Regions from separate parts of the Homo sapiens genome. Here regions 2, 3, 4, 5 and 6 are each linked to region 1. The links are contacts of gene promoters, found by promoter capture Hi-C in blood cells and fetal thymus (Javierre and others, 2016). All regions are on one chromosome and are shown on one strand. The core of a region is centred on a gene start or on the middle of the fragment in contact, and the rest is flanking DNA. Distances in the headings are between cores, read along the strand shown.

Evidence for each region. The method cuts DNA at HindIII sites, captures the fragments that hold promoters and counts their contacts. A CHiCAGO score of 5 or more calls a contact.
Region 2: a fragment that was not itself captured here is called in contact with the fragment with the promoter of BZW1 in region 1 in 1 of 17 cell types (neutrophils); the score reaches 10.0 in neutrophils.
Region 3: a contact is called between a fragment that was not itself captured here and the fragment with the promoter of BZW1 in region 1, in 1 of 17 cell types (neutrophils). The highest score is 6.9, in neutrophils.
Region 4: a contact is called between a fragment that was not itself captured here and the fragment with the promoter of BZW1 in region 1, in 1 of 17 cell types (neutrophils). The highest score is 8.1, in neutrophils.
Region 5: a fragment that was not itself captured here is called in contact with the fragment with the promoter of BZW1 in region 1 in 1 of 17 cell types (neutrophils); the score reaches 8.0 in neutrophils.
Region 6: a fragment that was not itself captured here is called in contact with the fragment with the promoter of BZW1 in region 1 in 2 of 17 cell types (erythroblasts and fetal thymus); the score reaches 5.2 in erythroblasts.

Annotation. Positions count from the first base shown.
Region 1 is chr2:200,810,596-200,813,204 of GRCh38, reverse strand. BZW1 (basic leucine zipper and W2 domains 1) reads right to left here and starts at 1,295. Exons shown (of 12, transcript NM_001207067.2): 1 at 1,215-1,295. BZW1-AS1 (BZW1 antisense RNA 1) reads left to right here and starts at 1,035. Exons shown (of 4, transcript NR_110275.1): 1 at 1,035-1,420. RefSeq lists enhancers at 1-457, 458-973, 1,822-2,081 and silencers at 722-1,091, 1,622-1,771. The HindIII fragment of the contact is 7,792 bases long and covers 1-2,609 here.
Region 2 is chr2:201,277,545-201,280,153 of GRCh38, reverse strand. The region is part of intron 7 of CASP8 (caspase 8); the gene reads right to left. Among named protein-coding and RNA genes, the nearest start is that of CASP8, 18 kb to the right of the region's middle. The HindIII fragment of the contact is 3,204 bases long and covers 1-2,609 here.
Region 3 is chr2:201,223,949-201,226,557 of GRCh38, reverse strand. It overlaps a transcript of CASP10 not described here. Among named protein-coding and RNA genes, the nearest start is that of CASP8, 35 kb to the left of the region's middle. The HindIII fragment of the contact is 4,030 bases long and covers 1-2,609 here.
Region 4 is chr2:201,201,839-201,204,447 of GRCh38, reverse strand. It overlaps CASP10 (caspase 10), which reads right to left. Exons shown (of 10, transcript NM_032977.4): 6 at 682-718. Among named protein-coding and RNA genes, the nearest start is that of CASP10, 20 kb to the right of the region's middle. The HindIII fragment of the contact is 1,450 bases long and covers 585-2,034 here.
Region 5 is chr2:201,184,797-201,187,405 of GRCh38, reverse strand. It overlaps CASP10 (caspase 10), which reads right to left. Exons shown (of 10, transcript NM_032977.4): 2 at 1,282-1,635. The coding sequence starts at 1,628. Among named protein-coding and RNA genes, the nearest start is that of CASP10, 3.0 kb to the right of the region's middle. The HindIII fragment of the contact is 467 bases long and covers 1,095-1,561 here.
Region 6 is chr2:200,533,397-200,536,005 of GRCh38, reverse strand. It overlaps SGO2 (shugoshin 2), which reads right to left. Exons shown (of 9, transcript NM_152524.6): 3 at 835-1,010. Among named protein-coding and RNA genes, the nearest start is that of SGO2, 8.5 kb to the right of the region's middle. The HindIII fragment of the contact is 963 bases long and covers 769-1,731 here.

The DNA.
Region 1 (2,609 bases), core at 46-2,545:
GGAAAGGAGAAATAAAGCCTTAATATCAGTGCCATAATACTAATTTTTAAAGCAAAACATCAAACCTTAGTCTAGTCACATATGAATCAAATGGAACACCCACTCTCAGGATATAAAGCTGGCAATTATACCCGATACAGGCACAAAGAATTACCTGCACTTGAATCAAATGTACGTCAAAATGTGCATTTCTCTCTACAAGAAACCCTTCAAATTAGTGCTGTGAACTACTTTTAAGCGACATTGTAGTGCTACAGTGATCACCCGTCATAAACCTAATTGTTCAGTTTTCTCCACATTCCTCTTTACATTCACTTACATCTTCCACGACCACTAAGCATCGCAGAACGCAAAGAGAGATTATCACCATAGTCAGCAGGCATCCAAAATGTGTATGCCAATTCTAAAACACTGTCAAAAGGTGAACCCCTTCTTCTGACAAGCCTGGTTACGGGCAGCACCATCCTACCCTAGGTCATGCCTGTGACCGCAACAGCGGCCGCCTTGCACCACTCAGGCCTGCAAAACTAACAGCCAGCCCAGCCTCCTTCGCCCATATCCCACAGTCCTAGCCTCCTCCCCGGTAACGTGTCTCCCAATCCACACCCTTCCCATGCCTCCCGCCCGAGCCACAGATCACCCGCTTCCCGCCCAGGACCCCATCGGCCACAGCGGGGCGCCGTAGGGTCCCGCGGCTCTTTCTCCACTGACCCTGTCGCCTGCGGTGGCGGCCGCCGCAACGAGCGGACCACAGTCACTGAGGCGCTTTGCGCCGGGGCCCCAGGCGCCCCGTACATCCGCCCGCCCTCCAGCGAAAGCAGCGGCGGAGGCGGCGGCCGCAGCGGTGGTGGGTGGCAGCCCCTCCGCCCCGCCCGCCGGAAGCCCCCACGCGTACATCACACAACAGAGGCCGCGGCGGCTTTGTTAGCCAGGCCGGGCACGGCCCAGAGGGAGCCCGCCTCGGCCACTGCCTTCGCAGCCAGCGCCGCGGCGCACACCCGGACCCCACCTCCCCACCCGGGCCGCCGCTACCCCTCGGCCTCCCTGCCGAAGCGGCGGCCTTTCAGGCCCTAGATCCGGCCCGGCCTCAAGAGGCGACCTCCGTTCGGGCCCATCCAAGCCGGGCCGCATCCAGCCCGCCGCCTCCCTCTCCCTCTGCCCGGCGTCCACGACCCGCAGCGTCCGCCCGGGGTGAGCGGGGCGCCGCGTCTCACCGAATTTAAGGCGAAGAGGAAAGAGCCAGAAATCCCCGATGTACCGGCAACTGCGGCGGTGTCTCCTCTGCGACCGGAACTAACGCCAGGAGGAGGGAGAGGTGCCACCCCCGCCCGGACCGCTCTCCTATCGCGAGATTTCTTCCCCTTGCCCCGCCCTGATCGTGGACAGGCGCTTCCGCCTTTTCTATTGCGCGCGGATTAGGGTGAGGGACTGGGATAGGGGAGGGGAGAGACGTTTCCAGTCTTCTTTATTCCCTTACTGGGTTCCACGTCGCCTGGACACTTGTCCTAGACTAGCTTATTTTTCTTCCCCCGCTGCGTCGTCCGCCCTCTTCACACATGGAGGGGTTGGAAGAGCGGAGCCGGCCCCCGCCGGTCTCGAAGTTGGACGCGTCCTCCTGGAGTCCCTCGCCGCCGGCCCCCTCCTCCAGCACCGGAAGTCGAAGCCCGAGGGCGGGGGGCCCTCGGGTCGTGCGGGGGCGGAGGCTGGGGGCGGGCATGGGGGCGTGGTTTGGGGAAGGAATCCGCACCTCGCCTCCGCCCTGGCCGGGATGGGCGGAGTTCGCTCCAGCTGAGTCCCCTGCCTGGCGACTTTTCTCTGAGGGGCTGTCTCATTGTTCACTACCTCCCTTAAGAGCGAAGAGGACACAGGCCGAAGATTGAGAAGGGGAAATTCTGTCCTCCAACCGCGGTCCCTGCGCGCTGCAGCGGTTGTCTCCCGAGTGTGGTGGCTATGGGGACTTGGAGAGCATCAGAATCCCTTGGAGGACTTGTTATAACAGACTGCTGGGCCCCACCCGTAGTTTCTCATTCTGTAGGCCTGGTGTGGAACCCATGAATGTGCATTTCCAACAAGTTATCTGTGATGCTGCTGCTGGTCCGCACCTTGAGAACCCCTCAGTTAGAGGCTATATCATCAGGGAGCTGGGGTACGATCAGATTAGATAGTGCGTGTGAAAAGCACTGTGGACGTGACAAAACTCTGTGCAGATAAAGATGCACAGCGCCTCTAGGATGTAGCCCCATGTTTTTATTCACTGTACAGTAGTTTACTTCTCTCCAGTTGCTTCCTCACTCTCTGGTAGGAGGAGAGTGGCTTCTCTTCCCTAAACCTTTTGATAAAATAGTTTGTTGACTTCTTTTCCCTAATTAACTATCTGACCTCTACCCCACCCCCCCGCAACTTCATGGAAAAATGACTTTCTCAGCGTTCGTTCCTGAAATTATTGCCAAACCCAGTGTTTTATTCTTCACCCTGTTTGCCTCCTCTGAGCATTGAATGTTACCTACCTCTCTCCTTGAATCCTGGCTCCAGCTATCCTGGTTACGTTCTGAATGTGCCTTTGCACGGTATTTTCTGACTCTTCTTTTCTGTACTGATACCTTTTCTTT
Region 2 (2,609 bases), core at 69-2,568, 470 kb before region 1:
GCTTGTTCTGTCCCTTTTTCATAACATCTTGTTCTTTCATGGACCTTTAACTAACTCTCTAAGAATACTAAATACCAATATTAAGCATTAAAAAAGGTTGCTTTTTTCTCAACATTATCTTTTTTTCATTCATATTCTGTTTCATGTTTTTCTTGTTGTTTGCATTGCCTCTCATTTATCTAGTAATTTATTTATTTATTTGAGATGGAGTCTTGCTCTGTCACCCAGGCTGGAGTGCAGTGGTACGATCTCAGCTCACTGCAACTTCCACCTCCCAGGTTCAAGTGATTCTTCTGCCTCAGCCTCTGTAGTAGCTGGGGTTACAGGCACCTGCCACCATGCCTGGCTAATTTTTGTATTTTTAGTAGAGATGGGGTTTCACCATGTTGGTCAGGCTGGGCTTGAACTCCTGACCTCAGGCGATTCGCCTGCCTCGGCCTCCCAAAGTGCTGGATTTTCACGCCACCGTACCAAGCTACCTCTCTTTCGTATTAGAGCCTTTCTTCAAATGCCTGCTGACCTTTGGTTGTCCATTCATAAATTGACTAATTAGTCCATTAAAAAGTCGACTGAAAGCTCTGTGTTTGTGGATGTGGCTTGTTCTCTGAGGGATTTCATAGCAAGATGATTGGTTGGGGACCTGATCATTTCATTAGGAAACCTCCAGATGTCATTATCTGTATGTATTTTAGCTAGAGCTTTCAGCTTCTCCAGAGGTAAGTCTGTATCTGCTGCCAGTGTCTTGGAACCAAGTTGGTTTAGAGATCTGACTCCATGCCACCAGCAGGTTTTCTTCAGTCTCTCTGTGTTCAGTAAAATGCTTCATTGCTTCCTTTGCTGGGCCTGGCACACCGAAGTGTAGAGCCTCTCTGGTTCAATTTTATGAGAAAACAAACTTCCTGTTCCTTATGATGGTAGAATAAGAATAGTTGCTGGCTCTATGAGAGGAAGGTATGAATCAGAGGATTGTATAGGCTTATATAGGCTTTCAAAGAATCTTCCTGTTTTCTGCTCATTGCCTCACCTACACTTTGTACTTCCAATTGCTGAATTTTTCCAGGATTCTGTGGGGGTAAATAGGCTTGCCTCCTTTCCGTGTTCCCCTCTGTAATCAGTGAGGTTGTAGCTTTCTCTGTTAAGTCAATTACCTCGACTCTTTTTTTTCAACTCCCCCAAATTGTTGGAAACCTTTCATTAGCTATTGTCTCCTTTCCTGTTCTCTTGATCCTTGTTGGATTATTCCTTTTTTATTCCTTCTCCAGCATTTTGTCCCTGTCAGCACATCAGAGCTAAACATAAGTCATCAGTCAAAAGGCAGTCTCAGCCAGGTGCAGTGGCTCACACCTGTAATCCCAGCACTTTGGTAGGCCGAGGCGAGTGGATCACCTGAGGTCAGGAGTTCAAGAACAGCCTGACCAACATGGTGAAACCCCATCTCTACTAAATACAATTAACTGGGTATGGTGGCACATGCCTGTAATCCCAGCTACTTGGGAGGCTGAGGCAGGAGAATCACTTGAACCTGGGAGGCAGAGGTTGCGGTGAGCCAAGATCATGTTATTGCACTGCAGCCTGGGCAACAGAGTGAGACTCTGCCTCAAAAAAAAAAAAAAGAAAAAATACAGTCTAGCATTAGGAATAGAAAAAAATAACTGAAATGCAATAGGCCCTTGTTGATTTGGAAGCACTTTGGCAAGACTAATACAGTGTGTTGGTTCTGTGAAAAAAATTCTGATCCTTTGGAAATGTGGAATGTTGATTAAAAAAATGACTGTAAAGCAAGTCTGAAGGCACTGAAGCAGGACAGAAGGGAGTCTCTCAGGAGAAATGACTTCTGCAGCTGGGTCTCCTACTTTTACTCATTCAGCATAAAACATAAGAACAGGAACAGAAAAAGCAGGACACACAGACTCGAATGCCTACCAGAGACTAGTCAATCATGGGCCAGTTATAAGAAAATGAGCTGCCAGAAATAGAAGCAAATGTTATTTTAATAGAAATGTTTTAATTTTAAAAGAATACAAATCAAGGGTCCAAAATATTTTTTTCAATACCAAGCGCATAGTGACGAATGATGTAATCAATGGACTTAATCTCTGTGCCTTTTTAAAGGCTTAGATTTGCTTAAATAAACAAATCAAATGTTAGCAGGGACCAGGTACAGGTGGCTGACACCTGTAATTCCAGCACTTTGGGAGGCCGAGGCAGGCGGATCACTTGAGGTCAGGAGTTCAAGACCAGCCTGGCCAATATGGCAAAACCCCATCTCTACTAAAAATACAAAAATTAGCCATGTGTGGTGGTGTGTGCCTGTAGTCCCAGCTACTTGGGAGGCTGAGGCAGGAGAATCACTTGAACCAGGGAGGTGGAGGCTGCAGTGAGCTGAGATCACACCACTGCACTCCAGCCTGGGCAACAGAGTGAGACTTTGTCTCAAAAAAAAAAAAAAAATGTTAATAGGGGCCATTACAGACTCCTGATGATTATAATCAGTCTACATTAATTTTCTAAACTTACCTCCATTTGCAAAACAAATCAATAATTGATGTTATGCCTGATAAACACTATTTCCAAAAGTTCTTTGATCAAATCAAAATTATTAATCTCTC
Region 3 (2,609 bases), core at 35-2,534, 410 kb before region 1:
GAAGATTGCTTGAGGCCAGGAGTTCAAGACCTTCCTGCACAACATAACAAGACCCTGTCTCTACAAAACAATGTTTTTAAGTTTATTTTGGGACATAGATCCAAAAATGGAATTGCTAGATTTTACTGTGTGCAAATTTCCAACATTTATAAATATTGCAAATTGCTCTCTAAAATGATTGTGTCAATTTACATTTCCTAGATCGATGTAATAGAGTTCCCTTTGCTCTGTATCTTCACCCACACTTGGTACTGACAGAGTTTTAAATGTTGATAATATGATGGACATAAAATGCTATCTCACTGTGGCTGTATTTTTCAAATTCTCTGATGACCAAAGAGAATGGTTATGTTTTCATATATTTATTGCTCATTGGTATTTCCTTTTAATTACTGGTTCATATTTTTTGCTCATCTTTGAACTAGTTTATATTTTTGCCCATCTAGGTTGGATTGTTTAATATTTTATGGATTTATAGAAGATTATATATATAGTATATGTACATATATCTCCTTTATCAGTTATACAACGTGGCAGATATCATTTCCCAGTTTGTGGCTCATCCCTCAGGTTTTGTTTTTGTTTTTGTTTTGAGACAGAGTCTCACTCTATCACCCAGGCTGGAGTGCAGTGGCATGATCTTGGCTCACTGCAACCTCCACCTGCCAGAGTCAAGCAATTCTCATGCCCCAGCCTCCCATGTAGCTAGGATCACAGGTGTGCGCCACCATGCCCAGCTAATTTTTTTTAGTACAGACAGGTTTCACCAAGTTGGCCAGGCTGGTCTTGAACTCCTGACCTCAGGTGATCCGCCTGCCTCGGCCTCCCAAAGTTCTGGGATTACAGGCGCGAGCCACCACACCCCGGCCTCATCCTTCAATTTTTAAATGTTGTTTTTGATGTTTTAAAATAGTCAAGAGGCAAGTGTTTCTTCTTAAATTCACAAATGACAGCTCCATAGTGGGTTATCAAGAGAAAAGGTGGGGCTTCTCAGGAAATATCTCTAACCTTTTAGGTTGAGATCATAGAGAATTCGATGATTAGTAAAACAGACCGAGAGTGCAAAAGGGTGATATAACCAGGGAAATGTCACAGCATTGCCGAAACCCCTGAAAGCCCATTGGAGGTTTGTGGTCATTGGTTTGAAACGAGACCTGTCTGCAACATGGAAGGTTTTTACCCCAGCCACATCCTGGAATTCCAGTACAAATTTGGAGGACAAGGATTTATAGGATTAACCAGAGTTGGGATTCTACCACCTCAGTGGAACTGACAGAAAGGCAAGGGTGTTGGTGGGTACAGGAGACTTTAACAAAGACACATGGACTCTAAGCTGAATGAAGAGGGAGTGAGGGGCGGTGCTGACATCGGGAAGACAATAGATAGGGTCAGTCAACCTAACTGGAAGCCCTGGTGGCACTGAAGATCCTTGAAGGGAAGGTCCTAGAAGAAGCAAGATGGAATGATGGGAGGTGGTTGTCAGAGAGGGACATGCTTGGAATTGAAACGTGAGTGAAAGTACAGATGGTAGTAATGACAAAGTTTACTGGATGCATGATTGGGGGGACATGGAGGATACACTCATTGAAAAAGGGTGGGGAAAAATCTGTGACAAACACAGAGTGAATAATGGGAAAATACATAGCAAAATAGAATTATAAATAAATATACTTTTTTCTTGGTGTGTTTTTGTATTTCCCAAATATTCCATAATGAACATACATTACTATGTAATCAGAAAAAAGTTATCAAATAAAATTCCCTTATTTATTAGTAAGTCCATTTCTACTATTTACCAGTACTCAGCTCAAAATCTCACAAAGTTATTTCCATTCTAGAATTTCACCAGTATTTCCCAGGCATTTTACAGAATCACTTAAAATGAGACCTACTGAGACATGTAAGTTTCACAGCATATGTTCTTTCTTCCAAGAAATACCTGTCTGAAATATGTATGCAGAAGTGGGGAGGACTGGGTATACAGTGGACAGAACTGGGGGCAAAACTCTTCTTGAACACCTTTAATTTTCTTATCTTCAAACCATACAAATATCTTTATAAAAATATTACCTACTCAAAATTACTTAAAAAGTAAAAATTAGTACAATTTAAAATTTTTAATTTAAAAATCTTTTCATAAAAATTCAGATTTGCAAAAGTTATGTTAGGAAATAAACAGTTGTTTGCATTGCCAAATAAGTAAATCTTTAAACACAGAATTTCCTCTAGTGCTTTTTAAAAGGGATTTCATTTTTTTTCTAATGTATTAAGAGTTCCATTTTTTTTTGGCCAGGCACGGTGGCTCACGCTTGTAATCCCAGCACTTTGGAAGGCCAAGGCGGGCGGATCACGAGGTCAGGAGATTGAGACCATCCTGGCTAACATGGTGAAACCCTGTCTCTACTAAAAATATAAAAAATTAGCTGGGCGTGGTAGCGGGCGCCCATAGTCCCAGCTACTCGGGAGGCTGAGGCAGGAGAATGGCATGAACCTGGGAGGCAGAGCTTGCAGTGAGCCAAGATCGAGCCACTGCACTCCAGCCTGGGCAACATAGCAAGACTCCGTCTCAAAAAAAAAAAAAAAGAAAAGAGTTCCATTTTTAAAAAACA
Region 4 (2,609 bases), core at 60-2,559, 390 kb before region 1:
CATCATAGCACACAACCTCCGTGTTAGGCAAAAAGACAAATTGCTAGCAAAGCTGTGTGTCTTGGACTCTGAAGGATAATTTTCCAGAAAAAAAAATGAGGAATGGTCTGTGACAAACTTTACATACCACAGAAAGACTTCGCCAAAGCCTGTTTGTTCATAAGCAGTTTAACCTGATGGCAGATTCTGGAATATTTTCCTAAGGTTATGGTTTCTGGGCAGGGATTCAGGGAACTAAACACACCATCCTCAAGTCCCTCCTCTTGCTTCTTCTCTCCCTCTGAAGCAACATCTGGAACCACTCCATAGAGGACACGCACCCAGACTGCACATTCTGCTGTCACTACTGGCCTGAAGGCTTCAGCCCTGCGGGGGCTGTTTCTGCTGCACAGAGGGTGGCCTAATTCTGAAGGGTGGAGGAAGAACAGCCGCCTGCAGTCCCTAGAATCTGCTATACTAGGCATTCAGAGCAGAAACCACCCAGCCCTCTCCATACTGCCATAGAAAAGCCTAGTACAATCCATGCATTCAATGTCTTGCCTTGAATTGGAATAAAAAATGAATTATTCATTATTTATAAAGCTTCTCTTCCAAGTCACCTTGAATTCCTTGGTATATATCAAATATGTCTATCCCTACCATACCGATCTAAGTTGTAAAAAGTACATTAGAAATACCTACCATTACTACCTGCATGCTTATTTTGCCAGGACTCCTGCTGAGAAAAAAGAAAGGAGGGCATGAAACATAGGAATTTCACACAGTTAGGATGAGGAACAAAAACTAGACTTGATGCAGGGAAGGACAGATATCTAATCCACAGCCACAGAAAAGGTCATTGGGCCGGTTGCGGTGGCTCATGCCTGTAATCCCAGCACTTTGGGAGGCCAAGGCAGGTGGATCACCTGAGGTCAGGAGTTCGAGACCAGCCTGACTAACATGGTGAAACCCCACCTCTACTAAAAATAAAAAAATTAGCCGGGTGTGGTAGCGCATGCCAGTAATCCCAGCTACTCAGGAGGCTGAGGCAGGAGAATCACTTGAACCTGGGAGGCAGAGGTTGCAGTGGGCCGAGATTGCGCAACTGCACTCCAGCCTGGGTGACAGAGCAAGACTCTGTCTCAAAAAAAAAAAAAAAAGAAAGTTCATTGGCAGGAAATGGGAAGAGAACCAACTCTCTCCATCCAAAGGAGAAGGTTCACAAAGACGCACTGGCAAAAATACAGTGTGACATATGCTCAAGGGTACTTACTCATTGCAGCATTATTTACACTAAGGACTGGAAATAGCCTAATGTCCACCAATAGGAAGTGATTGAAAAAGCTGTGGTATGTCCACATAGTGGAGTAAGATGCCAAGGACAGCCTCTATACCCTTCTCCAGGGGATGCTGTCATATGGAGAAAGCAAAATGAAATGGTATTTGAGTGCACTACCTCTTTTGTAATAAAGGGAAGATATACGTTGGATTTTTTTCAAAAGTAATAAGATAAATCAAAAAACAAATAAAAATGGCAATCGAGGTGGGGAGGAGAGGCAAGGATGCACTACCTTGGGCATACATTAATGTTTTATATAATTAAATACAAAATTAAAACAAAGTCTAAGACCCTGTCTTTTCTGTACCCTCCTCCCCATTCACCATCACCCCCTTCCCCCTATGACTCTCAGCCGTCAGCCTTCAGCAGAAAGCCCCCAAGGGGACCTGACCAAGGTGTTGGGGAAGAGCTGTTCCCCCAGCTCTGCAGGAACAAATGCAAAGGAGGCTTAGCTTCACTTTCCAAAAGGCTTCCTGCCTTTCTTTTCATAAGCCACTGTTCCCTTCCTGTAGAATCCTAGATTTCTTCTAAGAGGCAGACAAGGGCCTGGCCAGACTGCCTTCTGGTTTTGTCCAGCAGTTGAGTGAGTCTTCTGGGATTAGGGGCAATGCAGACACAGCAGCAGGCTCTGCCCAGCCCCTCCAGGCCCTGGCTTTCCTTGATTTGTTCTTCCCTTGGCTGATAAAGTCAGCCAGAACAGGGACTAGAAAAAAGCTTTAAGGTCTAATCTGCCTTTCTTCTCCCGAGAATGTTGCATCCTCTGTTGACACCTCTCAAGTCTCTATGTCAGAGAGGAATGAATGAATGAATGAGTGAATGTCCCACAGCCTGGCCACACTGAATCATCTTTCAACTTCTTTTGATAGTTTTCAAGAGGGGTCCAATAAGGCCTTATAAAGAAGCAGGTGTTAGGTCTCCTCCATAGAGAGACATGCCTCTCCTTAAGAAAACCTTATGCCACACTCAAAAAAATCGATTTGGCCGGGTACGGTGGCTCACGCCTGTAATCCCAGCACTTTGGGAGCTGAAGCAGGTGGATCACCTGAGGTCAGGAGTTCGAGACCAGCCTGGCCAACATGGCGAAACCCCATCTCTACTAAAAATACAAAAAATTTGCTGGGTGCGGTGGCACGTGCCTGTAATCCCAGCTACTCAGGAGGCTGAGGCAGGAAAATCACTTGAACCTGGGAGGCTGAAGTTGCAGGGGGCTGAGAAAAAAATAAATTTAATTTTTAAACATATTAGGAGATGTTGCTTAAAATTCGATGAGAGTTCCTTCTCATTGAGCCCA
Region 5 (2,609 bases), core at 79-2,578, 370 kb before region 1:
GCCTTCCCATCTCCTGATTCCATCAAGAAATTCAGGCTTACTTTACAGGCCCTTGGTAGATAGGACCCCAGGCCAGCCAAGGTACAGTCGGTTGTATATTGAAAAGGGAAGAAAACTACCCCAGCTTCGAGATATAATCCACAACCAGAAACAGTGAGGATTTCATCCACATACTAACACCCCTATGTGTCAGAGACTGTCCCTCAGATGTTTAGCCAGCAGAATGGAAATATGGATTTCTGGAATTCATCATTCCTTCCACTGACTCAAGGGCAACTCAGGTTCTGGAAGCCAGTTCCACCGCTAAGGCTTAATGTGTTCTAATCGCAGAGACCATAAAACACCCTCCAAAGGCTCCTCTTCGTGAGGTTCTCTGATGTGGACACTATGTCAGTGAACAATTTTAAACACTGTCATCAGCCTGGCACAGTGGCTCACACCTATAATCCCAGCACTTTGGGAGGCCGAGGTGCGTGGATCACTTGAGGCTAGGAGTTCCAGACCAGCCTGGCCAACATGTTGGAAACCCTGTCTCTACTAAAAATACAAAAATTAGCCAGGTGTGGTGGTGGGTGCCTGTAGTCCCAGCTACTCAGGAGGCTGAGGCAGGAGAATCGCTCGAACCCAGGAAGCGGAGGTTGCAGTGAGCTGAGATGGTGCCACTTCACTCCAGCCTGAGTGACAGAGCGAGACTCTGTCTCAAAATAAAAATAAAACGCTGTCATCCATGATAAGACCAATGCCTAAATTTTACCTCTTTGGGCAAAATGCCTGTTTTTACCTTTCTGGATTCCCACCCAAAAATATAGAAATTTCTATAACTAGACATGGCATAAATGACATCCCTCCCTACCCCAGAAACACATCTCTTTTTTCATCTTGCTTATTTCACTCCAAGTATGCATTACTCTCTTCTCAAGACCCCGGGAAACAGGTAGACAGACTAGTGGATCCCAGGAGGGAGAAGATCTGCACGTGTAGCCGCTGGTAAGCAGGGAAAACACGGGCTCTGCCACACTGAGGTGGGCTTCACTGCTAGTGAGAAGCAAAACAAAGGGAAGCCACCTCTGGGCCCAGGGCTTGGTCTTGAAGCTTTGCTGACCTCCCAACTCTTATCTCATTAGCATCAGAGGCTGAGAAGGAGGTTTAGAATCTCCTGGTTTATCATCCAAGGAGGTAGATAACCAAAAGATCTTAACTGCAGCTTCCTTTCAAAGCCCAATGGCCAGAATGAACACTAGATGGGAGATCCTCCCATCTCCACCACAGACCCGTCCTCACCTAAACAGAGAAACCCTTTGTCGGGTGGGCAGCAGTCGCTCCACTTCCTCTTTGGTACAGTTGAGGTGCTGCAGCAGCTTCTTCTGCCGTATGATATAGAGGAGTTCTGCCAGGAAGAAAGGGTCTTCCTCACTCAGCAGATCCTCTGCCAAGAGATGTTCAAAAACATCTGAGGCTGAGCTGGACTTCTCCAGCTTCTTGTTGGGGACCAATCCTATGCAGAGAAACTTGAGGTTCTCCACATCTTGGACCCCCAGGTTTGAATCAATAATCAGAAGCTTCTCACGAAAGCTCACTTTACAGTTTTTATCTGAACTGGAATACCAATGTTGACCTTGAGATTTCATGGCCAGCCTGAAAGGGACAGAGAGGTGGGGCAGGGAGTTAGAGAGTGAGGACATATGGCCCCCTGACTTCCCAGGCCCTCCCCTCACCACAACCTTCTCCGTTCTGGGCATTAGACTTTCCTAGAAGTGCTGAAAAATAAAAATTACGGCGAGGCTACTTCAAAAAGCAACAGCCCAGAAAACTTTTCCCCAACACTTGCAAGTTACTTTTTAGGAAACTTGGAGGGTGCTTATATTGGAATTCAATTCACCTTGATTTCTCCCAAATCAAAATGTTCCCAGAGAGAGAAAGTTAAGATGGAGGGACACAGCACAATTTTTCTCAAGCCTGGTAGCCTGATTGGAGCCCTTACATTCATTTCCAGCACGTGGCAGAAATAGCACTTGGCTCTATGCTTTAAGTTTTAGACACAAAGCAATCTGGGGGAGGCAGGGTTATCCTTATGATCTATCAACCCAAAGACAGCAAGGTACCGTGAGGTATGTGTGTTACATCTTAACTTCAGACTGCTACCTGTAAGAGGGCAGGCCTTTATCTTACAGAAAGGGAAGGCATAATCCTAGACCTCAAGCCTGAGCAACATGGCGAGACCTGGTCTCTACTAAAAATACAAAAAATTATCAGGGCATGGTGGCACATGCCTGTGGTCCCAACTACTCAGGAGGCCGAGGATGGAAGGATCATTTGAGCCTGGGGAGCACAGGTTGCAGTGAGCCATGATCATGCCACTGCACTTCACCCTGGGTGACAGAGTGAGACCCTGTTTCAAAAAGAAAAATAAATAAATAAAATATCCTAGACCTCAGGAGGAAAGGGTGGTTTTAGACAAGAGTTGCTCAAATCAGTGTAGGAAGTTAAAAATTACATGAGTCGGCTGCTCTGTCTATGGAGTAGCCATTCTTTTGTTTCTTTACTTCTCTAATAAACTTGTTTTCACTAAAAAAAAACAAATTACATGAGTCAATGTTTCCATCTGATCA
Region 6 (2,609 bases), core at 1-2,500, 280 kb after region 1:
TCAGGCATTTATGAATGCCATCCATGTGAGAAAACTTAAAAAATAGTTGATATCATATTGAGCTAAAAATTGAGATCACATTCAGCTAAAATGGTATATTATATAGTACCAAATAGTATTATATAGTCCAAATAGTCATACATATCATACATACATACATGTATACACACACACACACATATGTTGAATACTTTAGAACAATTTTGTTTTCCTATAAACATTTTTCTATCTTCTCATAGTAATATATCACATGGCAAGAGAACAGTTTGTCAGCCACCGGAATTAAACCCACAAGTAGAGTAGGTCCTTTTTCCATTATAAAAAGTTCTACTCATTTTAGATTTAGATCTATAGTTGCAGCCTAGCTAATCATTGGCTCTCACTGTCCTGTCTGTGAACAGAGTTGAAATTTGGAAGGAAAAGAAACAACTATAATTCTCATTCTGTTTAGCTTGTAGCCAGGTAAATGCTGAGATTAAAAAAGAATAACAACATTCTGGGAATTCCTTTCCTTTCAAGAACACCGGAAGAACTATGACCATCTTTTAAAAATGTATTAATGTACCAAGCTTTGTTTATGATTAGCAATCGAATGTTGGTCAAAGTATTATACTGGTTTACACAGCACACAAGCACACATTTAGAATGTAGATTTAAAACACATATTTTATTACCCATTAACAGTTTGTACTTTGACATAGACTTACATGGTATACTGACTTTCAATAATTTTTCACTATTGGAGATTTGAAAAATATTTTTAAAGCTTCTATAATAATGCAGCTAAAAGATTTAAGTTATAATTAGAATTCAAAAACAATATAGCTTACATACCAAGTTATTTAGCTTTAGGCGAAGAAATGTGTTCTCAAAATTCAGTTTCTCTACTTCTTTTTGCAATAGCATCTTTTCAGTTGTAATTCTTCGAGAATTCTCTTTTTCTCTACTAAGAGCCTGAGCTAATGCCCTGTTGTTGTGCTTTAAAGATATTTTGAAAATAGAAGAATTATCTGTAAAAAGATTTTTAAAATGAGTTAATATTCAGCTTATACCTTAAGAAATTTTTATATTCCTTAGTAAAACATAGACAAAATGCATTTCACAAGTTTTAACTGAAGATTAGAAAAGGGAATAACAATACAGATGTAGTTTTGAGAAAAATAAACCCAGAGTTTAGAGGTGAGGAAATGAAAGCTAGACAGAAGATGAAGAATTCAAGAGTTGTGAGGAATGCAGAATATGTATAAAAAAGGAGTAAGAGGACTGCAGCACAGACATAGCATTCTACATAATTAGATCAGTCACAAAAATTAAATCTTGATACTTGCTGCTCTACCTAATTTCCTACCTTTGACTAGCAGACAGAATGGAGAAACTGATTCTGCAGCTCTAACTGGAAATGTCCCATAGGAATGAGGGTAGCCAATCTGGGAAAATTCTAAAGCCAGCTTCTACAGCTCCAGAACTGAACAAATTACTTAATACTCCCAACGCCCATTTTTAAACTTTGAGTGATAGAGCCATACTTTCTCTAATGTTAGATAGATAATCTAAACCCCACGGGACCTTTTACTGCCATCTAAAAGATTCTACCTCTTATTTCTAGGCATCTACTGCAATCTAAACTCGACTCCTCTTTAAAAGCACTATGTAAATATGATTTAAATCACGCCTGAAATTGCTTTTCTGTTGGAAGCAAAGAAATTTCATTGTGAATTCCCTGGTAAAGCTTACCATAAATATAGTGTGTTCCCTTAGTACATTTAAAATATCATTATATTTTCATAATTTTAACTTACATTTCACTATTCAATAACATATGCCACTGAATAAAAGTCTAGTGTATGTGAAATAAGTTTTATAAAATTTAATAACATTTTATAAGTACTCAGGGAAAACTTGGGATTCTGCAAAACAGAGTCCAAAACAGTACTTTACCTTTGGCACAGAGAGAGTAGTTTTGGATAGCCATTCTTGGCATAGCAAATGGAAACTGACTACAACAAGCTTAGGATTTCCAGAAGATAAAGAGTAATAACATTTTCCTGTTGTACTCCTCAAAGTCAGCATATTCCTTCATAACAGGGGGTGTGGAATAGTCTTGCCAAAGGGAGTAAGCAAGAGCCAGTGTAAGGAGTGGCCCTAGAGACCTAGGTGGGAGCTGCATCATGATTTACAGGCACCCAGGAGGCTGGGTTGTTTTAGAAGGCACACGTGATTGTCCTTCGCAGGAGCTATATCAGCAGATAATGTGACTAAAAGGATACCTCCCCAACTCCTGCTAAGATGGGTATGAACACTGAGATAATTTTCAGAAGTAATGAAAATTTATCTTGGGGAGTTTTCCCACCTCCTTTTTTTTTTGCCCTTCTGATGCCTTAACTCCAGAATTCATGAAATTCCATTTCCAAAGTGCTCAGTGTCTTCATAAGATTGCCTATATAAAGTCACATGTATACACACACACACACACACACACACACACATATACATTATATATATACACACGTATATATAAGCACCCAGTGTGAGCCCACCTCCTCAAGGCTACCCATCATCCAGTTGCCACAACATGCCAGAACAACCTGCTACTCTTACTACATCTGTTC